3 separate regions of the Homo sapiens genome follow, and regions 1 and 3 are each linked to region 2. Evidence: promoter capture Hi-C in 16 types of primary human blood cells and fetal thymus (Javierre and others, 2016). All regions are on one chromosome and are shown on one strand. The core of a region is centred on a gene start or on the middle of the fragment in contact, and the rest is flanking DNA. Distances in the headings are between cores, read along the strand shown. Region 1 overlaps B4GALT4-AS1 (B4GALT4 antisense RNA 1). Region 2 holds the start of CD80 (CD80 molecule). Region 3 holds the start of TEX55 (testis expressed 55).

Evidence for each region. The method cuts DNA at HindIII sites, captures the fragments that hold promoters and counts their contacts. A CHiCAGO score of 5 or more calls a contact.
Region 1: a fragment that was not itself captured here is called in contact with the fragment with the promoter of CD80 in region 2 in 2 of 17 cell types (total B cells and megakaryocytes); the score reaches 6.9 in total B cells.
Region 3: a contact is called between the fragment with the promoter of TEX55 here and the fragment with the promoter of CD80 in region 2, in 7 of 17 cell types (naive CD8 T cells, activated CD4 T cells, erythroblasts and 4 more). The highest score is 12.7, in naive CD8 T cells.

What each region holds. Positions count from the first base shown.
Region 1 is chr3:119,241,715-119,244,432 of GRCh38, reverse strand. All of the region lies in intron 3 of B4GALT4-AS1 (B4GALT4 antisense RNA 1), which reads right to left. Among named protein-coding and RNA genes, the nearest start is that of B4GALT4, 2.2 kb to the right of the region's middle. RefSeq lists a silencer at 2,689-2,718. The HindIII fragment of the contact is 2,833 bases long and covers 20-2,718 here.
Region 2 is chr3:119,558,151-119,560,942 of GRCh38, reverse strand. It overlaps CD80 (CD80 molecule), which reads left to right and starts at 1,329. Exons shown (of 7, transcript NM_005191.4): 1 at 1,329-1,503. It overlaps LOC107986118 (a long non-coding RNA gene), which reads right to left and starts at 513. Exons shown (of 2, transcript XR_001740861.2): 1 at 198-513. RefSeq lists enhancers at 1,056-1,105, 1,876-1,935, 2,206-2,365, 2,727-2,792 and a silencer at 2,727-2,792. The HindIII fragment of the contact is 26,007 bases long and covers 423-2,792 here.
Region 3 is chr3:119,144,843-119,147,690 of GRCh38, reverse strand. It overlaps TEX55 (testis expressed 55), which reads right to left and starts at 1,526. Exons shown (of 3, transcript NM_152539.3): 1 at 104-1,526. The coding sequence starts at 1,501. It also overlaps a transcript of IGSF11 not described here. RefSeq lists a silencer at 1,975-2,269. The HindIII fragment of the contact is 11,642 bases long and covers 1-2,848 here.

The sequences.
Region 1 (2,718 bases), core at 187-2,686, 320 kb after region 2:
AACTAAATACTGCAAAGCTTTAATCCATTATATGAAAGTGTGTTTTCCCCAGGTAAAAGCCTTTTGTGATACACTGAGTACAACCAACCTTTCACAATCTAGAACTCAGAGATTGAGTCTTCTGGAAATAACATCCCATCTGAGAAAAACTGCTCTTGTATCCCATTAGAAGAGATTATATCATGTACTTCTCTCACCACCCACAGTAAAACTTCAGGGCCTCGAGTTTTGGTCCATACCTTGTAACTCAAAAGAGCCCCTTCAAACTCTTGGAATTATACACCTGTTGGAGATCTTAAGGTAGGGAAGTTTCTCCCCAGAAGCAGATGGCATCCTAGACATGGACAGCTTTCTCAAGATCATGGATCAAGACTTCTCTGCTATCATGACTATCTTATCTTTTTTTCTATTTTTTCCATATTTCCTGCTGGGAAATCCATGGGACCATAATTTATAGATGGCTTTAGCTAAGGCTCATGCTCTAACAAGAAAAACTAGAGCAACTGTTGGGTTTCTGGACTGATGCCAAAAAAAAAACCCCTAGGAAACAATTTTATTAATGCCAATGCCTCTCTGTGAAATGAAAGCCACCCTAAAACCTCAAAAGCAGATTGGAAAGCTATCTTTAATTTTGTAGATATCACTGCTACTTGCTTTCCTACACTTACTGAAAGCAATAACCCAACTTCTCCAATTAATAACCTACCAGCTACCAAATATAGAAAAGCTGAGTGATTCTTTTTTTTTTTTTTTTTTAGATTAACTTGCTTGGCTCCTTTATTATTCTCCTTTATTATTAAACTTCCTCAGCATAATGTGATTTGGGCAGACAGAGATGTTATCCTGTGGCTTATTGTTGGCCTACATTCTCTTTTTTTTTTTTAAATTTATTTTTTTTTTAGTATTTATTGATCATTCTTGGGTGTTTCTCGGAGAGGGGGATTTGGCAGGGTCATAGGACAATAGTGGAGGGAAGGTCAGCAGATAAACATGTGAACAAAGGTCTCTGGTTTTCCTAGGCAGAGGGCCCTGCCGCCTTCCGCAGTGTTTGTGTCCCTGGGTAGTTGAGATTAGGGAGTGGTGATGACTCTTAGCGAGCACGCTGCCTTCAAGCATCTGTTTAACAAAGCACATCTTGCACTGCCCTTAATCCATTTAACCCTTAGTGGACACAGCACATGTTTCAGAGAGCAGGGGGTTGGGGGTAAGGTTATAGATTAACAGCATCCCAAGGCAGAAGAATTTTTCCTAGTACAGAACAAAATGGAGTCTCCTATGTCAACTTCTTTCTACACAGACACAATAACAATCTGATCTCTCTTTCTTTTCCCCACATTTCCCCCTTTTCTATTGGACAAAACCGCCATCGTCATCATGGCCCGTTCTCAATGAGCTGTTGGGTACACCTCCCAGACAGGGTGGTGGCCGGGCAGAGGGGCTCCTCACTTCCCAGACGGGGCTGCCGGGCAGAGGGGCCCCCCACCTCCCAGACGGGGCGGCGGCCGGGCAGAGGGGCCCCCACCTCCCAGACGGGGCGGCGGCTGGGCAGAGGCGCCCCCCACCTCCCGGACGGGGCGGCTGGCCGGGCGGGGGCTGCCCCCCACTTGCCGGGCGGGGCGGCTGGCCAGGCGGGGGCTGCCCCCCCACCTCCCGGGCGGGGCGGCTGGCTGGGCGGCTGCCCCCCACCTCCCGGACCAGGCAGCTGCCCGGCGGAGGGGCTCCTCACTTCTCAGACAGGGCGGCCAGTCAGAGACGCTCCTCACCTCCCAGACGGGGTGGCGGCGGGGCAGAGACACTCCTCAGTTCCTAGACGGGTCGCCGCCGGGCAGAGGCATTCTTCACCTCTCAGACGGGGTGGTGGGGCAGAGGCGCTCCCCACATCCCAGATGATGGGCGGCCAGGCAGAGACGCTCCTCACTTCCTAGACGGGGTGGCGGCCGGGAAGAAGCGCTCCTCACTTTCCAGACTGGGCGGCTGGGCAGAGGGGCTCCCCACATCCCAGATGATGGGCGGCCAGGCAGAGACGCTCCTCACTTCCTATACGGCGTGGCAGCAGGGCAGAGGCTGCAATCTCGGCACTTTGGGAGGCCAAGGCAGGCGGCTGGGAGGTGGAGGTTGTAGCGATCCGAGATCAAGCCACTGCACTCCAGCCTGGGCAACATTGAGCACTGAGTGAGCGAGACTCCGTCTGCAATCCCGGCACCTCGGGAGGCCGAGGCTGGCAGACCACTCGCGGTCAGGAGCTGGAGACCAGCCCGGCCAACTCGGCGAAACCCCGTCTCCACCAAAAAATACGAAAACCAGTCAGGTGTGGCGGTGCGCGCCTGCAATCCCAGGCACTCGGCAGGCTGAGGCAGGGGAATCAGGCAGGGAGGCTGCCGTGAGCCGAGATGGCGGCAGTACAGTCCAGCCTCGGCTCGGCATCAGAGGGAGACCATGCAAAGGGGAGACGAGGACCGTGCAAAGGGGGGAGGGAGATGGGGAGGGAGACAGAGAGGGGGAGGGGGAGGGGAAAAGCTGAGTGATTCTTGCAAAAGGTATATATTATGCTTCCAGGCATCATATGCTCAAGACCTGGGGACTATGTGGGTATAAGTAACTGATTGTATAACGCCACTGGATGAAATCCAGTAATGTCCTTTTTCACTAAATGTGGTTATACACCCTTACAGCATGTTACAAAGGGAACACAAAAAAATAAGTTTCACACTGGACCTT
Region 2 (2,792 bases), core at 80-2,579:
AGAAAATAAATTTCTAAAACTCTGTATTTCTTTGCTCTTTTAAGTTGACATCTATAACTTTCTATTACTTTAAATACCTGGAAAAAAAATCACTTCCAGTGCATTGTAATAATGTATCAAGTAGAAGTGGCTAAAATCAGTGAAAACATTTCTTTGATCTGAATAAATGTTCAAGAAAATAGAAAACATGAACTTACCTCCAATCTATGTTCCCTTTACTTGAAAATGTAATGTTGATCTACTAGAGGTAAGGCAGGAATTGTCACATCCATATTCCTTGCAACTATTCAAAATATGCATCTGAGACCAGAACAAGACACAGGTGAAGAAGGGTGCTCACTAGGCCCCTTCTGCCAATACAGAAGGAGACAGTGCAGTGGAGTCCTTTCATAGCAAGTTCTGCCTTCATGATTTCCAAAGCTTCAGTATTCCAAATCTCAGGTGAATAGGGTGGTATCCACTAAGCTCTGCCACAAACTTGTTGCTGAGATGAAGGAAGCCGCCGCTGTAGTCAGTATTTCTCACCCACACGGTTTGCTCTCTTTCTGGCTGGTGTGGGAAGGATGGCGTCTTTTTTTTTTTTTTTTTTTTGAGATGGAGTCTTGCTCTGTTACCCAAGCTGGATTGTAGTGTTGTGATCTCGGCTCACTGCAACCCATGCAAGGTGCTGTCAGGTTCCACCTGTGCAAACAAGTACACTGGTCCAGCATGGGTCAGCTGCTCACTCACAGGGGCTCCAGAATCCTACAAAGGGACACACAGGGGTGGGTGGCAACCTAGTTGGAAATGGGAGTGATGGGCATGACTAAAGTCTTCCTCATCCCACCAGAGGCGCACTCAACTGTGGCTAGGGTGACCAGAATTCACTGTCCAGCGTGGCTGGCAGGAGCCCACTCTCTGAAGATGGTGGGATTCAGAGGTGGGAGTAGAGTTGGGTGGTCCTGTGAGCTGAGCACTCTCCCAAAAGTGTCCCCTACATATGAGGTTGACAGCTTATTCCTGCAGGGACTCAGGAGTAACTCTGGGTGCTAAAACAAAACTTGAGACCAGCACAGAAACAGCCAGCCCATGAAGCTGGCCTCCCATCACACAGCAAGGCTAGCCAGATGCCCCTCACTCTTCTCGGGCACCATTCTTCTCCTCCCCTAGGCCGCCTGGTGCTCGTGGTGTTTCATGTTTGTTAGTCCATGCACGGTGGTGAGGGAGGCTGCTGTGTGATTTGCCCCAGCCACAGCCTCTACAAAAGCAACTAGAAGAAGACGGCAGCAGAGGGCGCTTCTTCAAACACCCTGTCCAACTCCTGGCACTGACAAGTACTGAGTGAACTCAAACCCTCTGTAAAGTAACAGAAGTTAGAAGGGGAAATGTCGCCTCTCTGAAGATTACCCAAAGAAAAAGTGATTTGTCATTGCTTTATAGACTGTAAGAAGAGAACATCTCAGAAGTGGAGTCTTACCCTGAAATCAAAGGATTTAAAGAAAAAGTGGAATTTTTCTTCAGCAAGTAAGTACATTTACTATTATCTTACTATGGGATAGCTTGGTAGAACTAGTTACCAGCAACCTCACTGCTTTTTAAACAAACAATACCTCTGCTACCACCTCCTGGATCCAGGCTTGCCCTCAAAGGAACCCTTAGGGTCTCATTCCCACAGGAGGCTGTGGCTTCCCGACATATTTGGAGCATCATAGTGAGAATTGTGGCCCATTATTTTAAAATATCCTAGATCCTAGCAAATATTGTTTTTGTGGGCCGTATTTGAATTTCTCAAGCCAGTAAAATTCTAGTGAAAGTGGGAAAATCGCTTGAGCTCGGGAGGTTGAGACTGTGGTGAGCTATGGTCACGCCACTGCACTCTAGCCTGTGTGACAGAGCAAGATTCTATCTTAAGAAAAACAAATTCTGGTGAATAAGTCTCTTTTAACTAATCCTGTCTAAAATGGATGATGGCTAATAAAACAATATGGCGTGGCTGGAACTCTAGCTCTAGGGTGGTCTCCAAAGAGGACACTCAAGCATTCTCTGAGCAGCACGGGGCTGTGTCCTGGTAGCAGCCTGAAGGGGTGACAGTGGAGCACAGTGTTTATTTTCATTTCTCAATTTTGACATATTTACTGGAAAAATTAATCCCTAGCCACCTCACATGACAGTACATAATTTTTTTTTTTTTTTTTTTTGAGATGGAGTCTCACTCTGTCGCCTAGGCTGGAGTGCAGTGTTGCAATCATCTTGGCTCACTGCAGCCTCCACCTCCTGGATTCAAGCAATTCTCGTGCCTCAGCCTCCCAAGTGGCTGGGATTACAGGCACCCACCACCACACCTGGCTAATTTTTGTATTTTTGGTAGAAATGGGGTTTTGCCATGTTGGCCAGGCTGGTCTGGAACTCCTGGCCTCAAGTAATCCGCCCACCTCAGCCTCCCAAAGTGCTGGGATTACAGGCGTGAGCCACCACGCCTGGCCCTGGAGTACATAATTTTGATAAGTAACGTCTGCAGTGTCTTTTTTTCCCTCCCTTTTTATGGATAGACTTTTCTGGTTATTGAGATCTCATACCCCTTTATGATATATTATTTGAGTAGAGGGTTTAAAGAATTGAGATACTTGTTTTCTTATGTTAATATGTCAAGAAAGAAGTTGTTTCATAACTTAGGTCCTGCCTTGGACAAAATACACCCTTACTGTCTGCTCTATGTTTCTTGGTATGTTCAGAAGAGGATTTGAACTTTTGCAGGTTGGCTAACAGATATGGAGGGTCCTTAGAGCTCTCCTGTTTCTAACCAAATCTTCACC
Region 3 (2,848 bases), core at 277-2,776, 410 kb after region 2:
TTGATGCAACATGTGCCCTTCCGTTGTACCCCTATTTTTACTCTCCAGGCCCCGTCTAGATCTCTGATCTCCCAGGTAGGTATCAAATGCCCATTTAACTTACAGATTTGGTTACTATGGCTTGAGTTTTTTCTTGACTGCTGGTATAGTTCAATTTGGATGAGATGGAGGGGAGTCTTGGGAAAAGAGCTTGGTCTTTTGCTTGGAAGTTACTGGTGAATCTGGCATCAACTGGGTTGTAGGGTGGGATAGTGGTTGCATTCTGAGTTTCCATTTCAACTGAAGGCTTGGAATTGAGGTCTACTTGGCTATCCTCAAATTTGCAGGGTTGTACTCTGTAGTCAGCCTCTTTGTCCTCTTTGCTGTTGCCTAACTGGGGAAATATTCTGTCTTCAGACTGGCCACGTGTTTCATAGTAAGACAGCTGGTCTTTATGATTAGCTTGTCTGTCTGCTAAGTGGTCAGTCTGGTCAGATTCAGTGTAGTGAGCATTGTCAACTGGAGGTTGATCAGCATTACTATGAGCTTGGTCAATAGCCTGGTGTTCAGCTAGTTCAGTGGCTTGGCCGTACACTTGGTGGTGAGTCTTTACAGATGTTTTGTGGTCAACGAGGCCATACAATCTGAGGTCAGTCTGCTCAGAAGTTCCTGGGTCAGCCAGGCCAGCCAATCTGTAGTCAGTCTTCTCAGAACTTCTTCTCCTAACTTTCCCTGACATTCTGCGGTCAATCTGTACGGAAGGTCTTTGGTCAGATGGTACGGACGATCCACTGTCAATCTGTACAGAAGGACTTTGGTCAGATGGGACGGATGACCCACTGTCAATCTGCACAGAAGGTCTTCTCTCAGATAGTTTGGATAATCTGTGTGTAATCTGCTCAGAAGTTCTTCGCTCAGCCTCGCCAGACATTCTGCGGTCCATCTGCTCGGAAGCTCTTCTCTCAGACTGGCCTGCCATTCTGTGGTCGGTCTGTCTGGAACCTCTCTGGTCAGATGGCATAGCCAGTCTACCATCAATCTGCCCAGAAGTTCTTCTCTCAGCCTGGGTAGGTAATCTTCGTTCAGTCTGTTCAGCAGTTCTTTCCTCCGTCAGGCCAGACACCTGACCATCACTCTGTTCATGCTGTACATTATTAGCTTGGCTAGATGCCTTGCCTTTAGTCTGTTCAGACGGTGTTTGATTAACCTGATCATCTGCTCTAAGGTCAGAAACATCAGCAGGGTTGGATGCTCTGCGGCCAGCCTGACCAGGTGTACTATGCCCATTTTGTTCAGCTACTCCGTTGGTAGCTTGGCTAAATATGCTGGATTCAGCCTGGCTAGGCACTCTTAGGGCAGTCTGGTCAGCTATTCTGTGAGCAGTGTGGTTATCTGCCTTCCTTTCGGCCTGGTTCTTCTGGTCGTCTTCTTCCTGGCCCTTAGTGTGGCCAGCACTTGAGGGAGCGGCTGGGCTTTCATGTTTCAAGGGTTCAGCCAGAGCCTCTTGCGGAGGCTCTTCCATTTCCTGCCGCGTCCCTGACTGGTCTAGGTTGCCAGGCACTGTGGGTGGGGTTGGGCTGGGTCGTCTAGGCGACCCTCCAGGAACGCCCCATGATTCCCACGGGCTTTGTTCGGGTCACTGCGTGCGTCAGGGAGAGTGGCCGTCCCGCTGTTGTAAGTGGAGGGACGGCAGTCAGCTGACCCTGCAGTGTGCAGGCGAGCGCAGGGAGTACGCCATGTCCTGAGAAGGGGCGATTCTCAGGCTCTGGCAGTTACAGCTTCTCCTCACCCTGCCGAGCAACCAGGCCACGGGGCTCCGTGCATCGCCACCTAGAGTGTTACCCTCTTCCTTGTTCACAGAGGTTCTCCGCAGTGTGTGAGAAAGAGGCCCTCTCTCAGGTACTGCTCCTCTGATTAACATCCCCCACCGCACCTCCAAATGTCAACAGATGAACACACAACCAGCTGCACGAGGACCACAAAACTGAACAGAGGTTGTTGCTATTGCCATCCCCTTTGGGTATAGCTGTCTTGGCAGTGGAAACTCCTGCCCCAAGGTGTTTTCTTGCTGGATTAGACATGTGATCTGTGGCGGGAGAGCCAGAGAGAGGAGAGAAGATCCAGTGAGAATGGGTTCTAAAACTGCACCATCTAGTGGTCTTACAGCAGAGAGGCGAGTTAGAAGGAGGCCAAATCAGAGTTCCAGAAAGGAAGGGAGTAAGGAAAGTGGGAGAAAGATACCAGAAGGAATATTTAGCAAGTGGAGAATTTGTATTTGATAGTGTTGGCCAGTGGGGCCCAGTTTTTGAGATTTGGTCCTCCCACTTTGCAATCAACCTTAAGAATGCACCTCAGAGTCAGTAGGCTGTCTACTTTCAGGAGTAGGCCAGTACAGAGGTGGTGATTGATGAGACAAATTACTTTGACCTTGCAAAGCCTGAAATCACTGAGGCAGGCCAAGGGTTGGTAGTGTGATGCCAGATATTCCTTTAGTAGGGATTTAACTGCATTAAACAATTAGAAATGAGACTTAAAATCCAAATTCAAATACTTGTGACAAAGGAGAGTGGATACACTTGACACCATACTTAGGAATGGAAAGGGGAATCTAAGCACACTGAAGTAAAGTCATTTATGTAACAGTGCCTAGAACATAATAGGTGCTCAAGAAGTGCTTGTTGAATGTCACTTTATGAATTATCTACCTTATTTATTTAAAAATGCATGACACCATTGGATACTGTGTTTAGAGTAAAATAGGTCTTGGGCTATGGCTTGTAGCTTCAAAGTGCTATTGGTTTTGGAGATTTATTTTTCCATTTTATAACTTAAATGTAATAATCATAGAAATATAAAAAAGAAAGCGTAA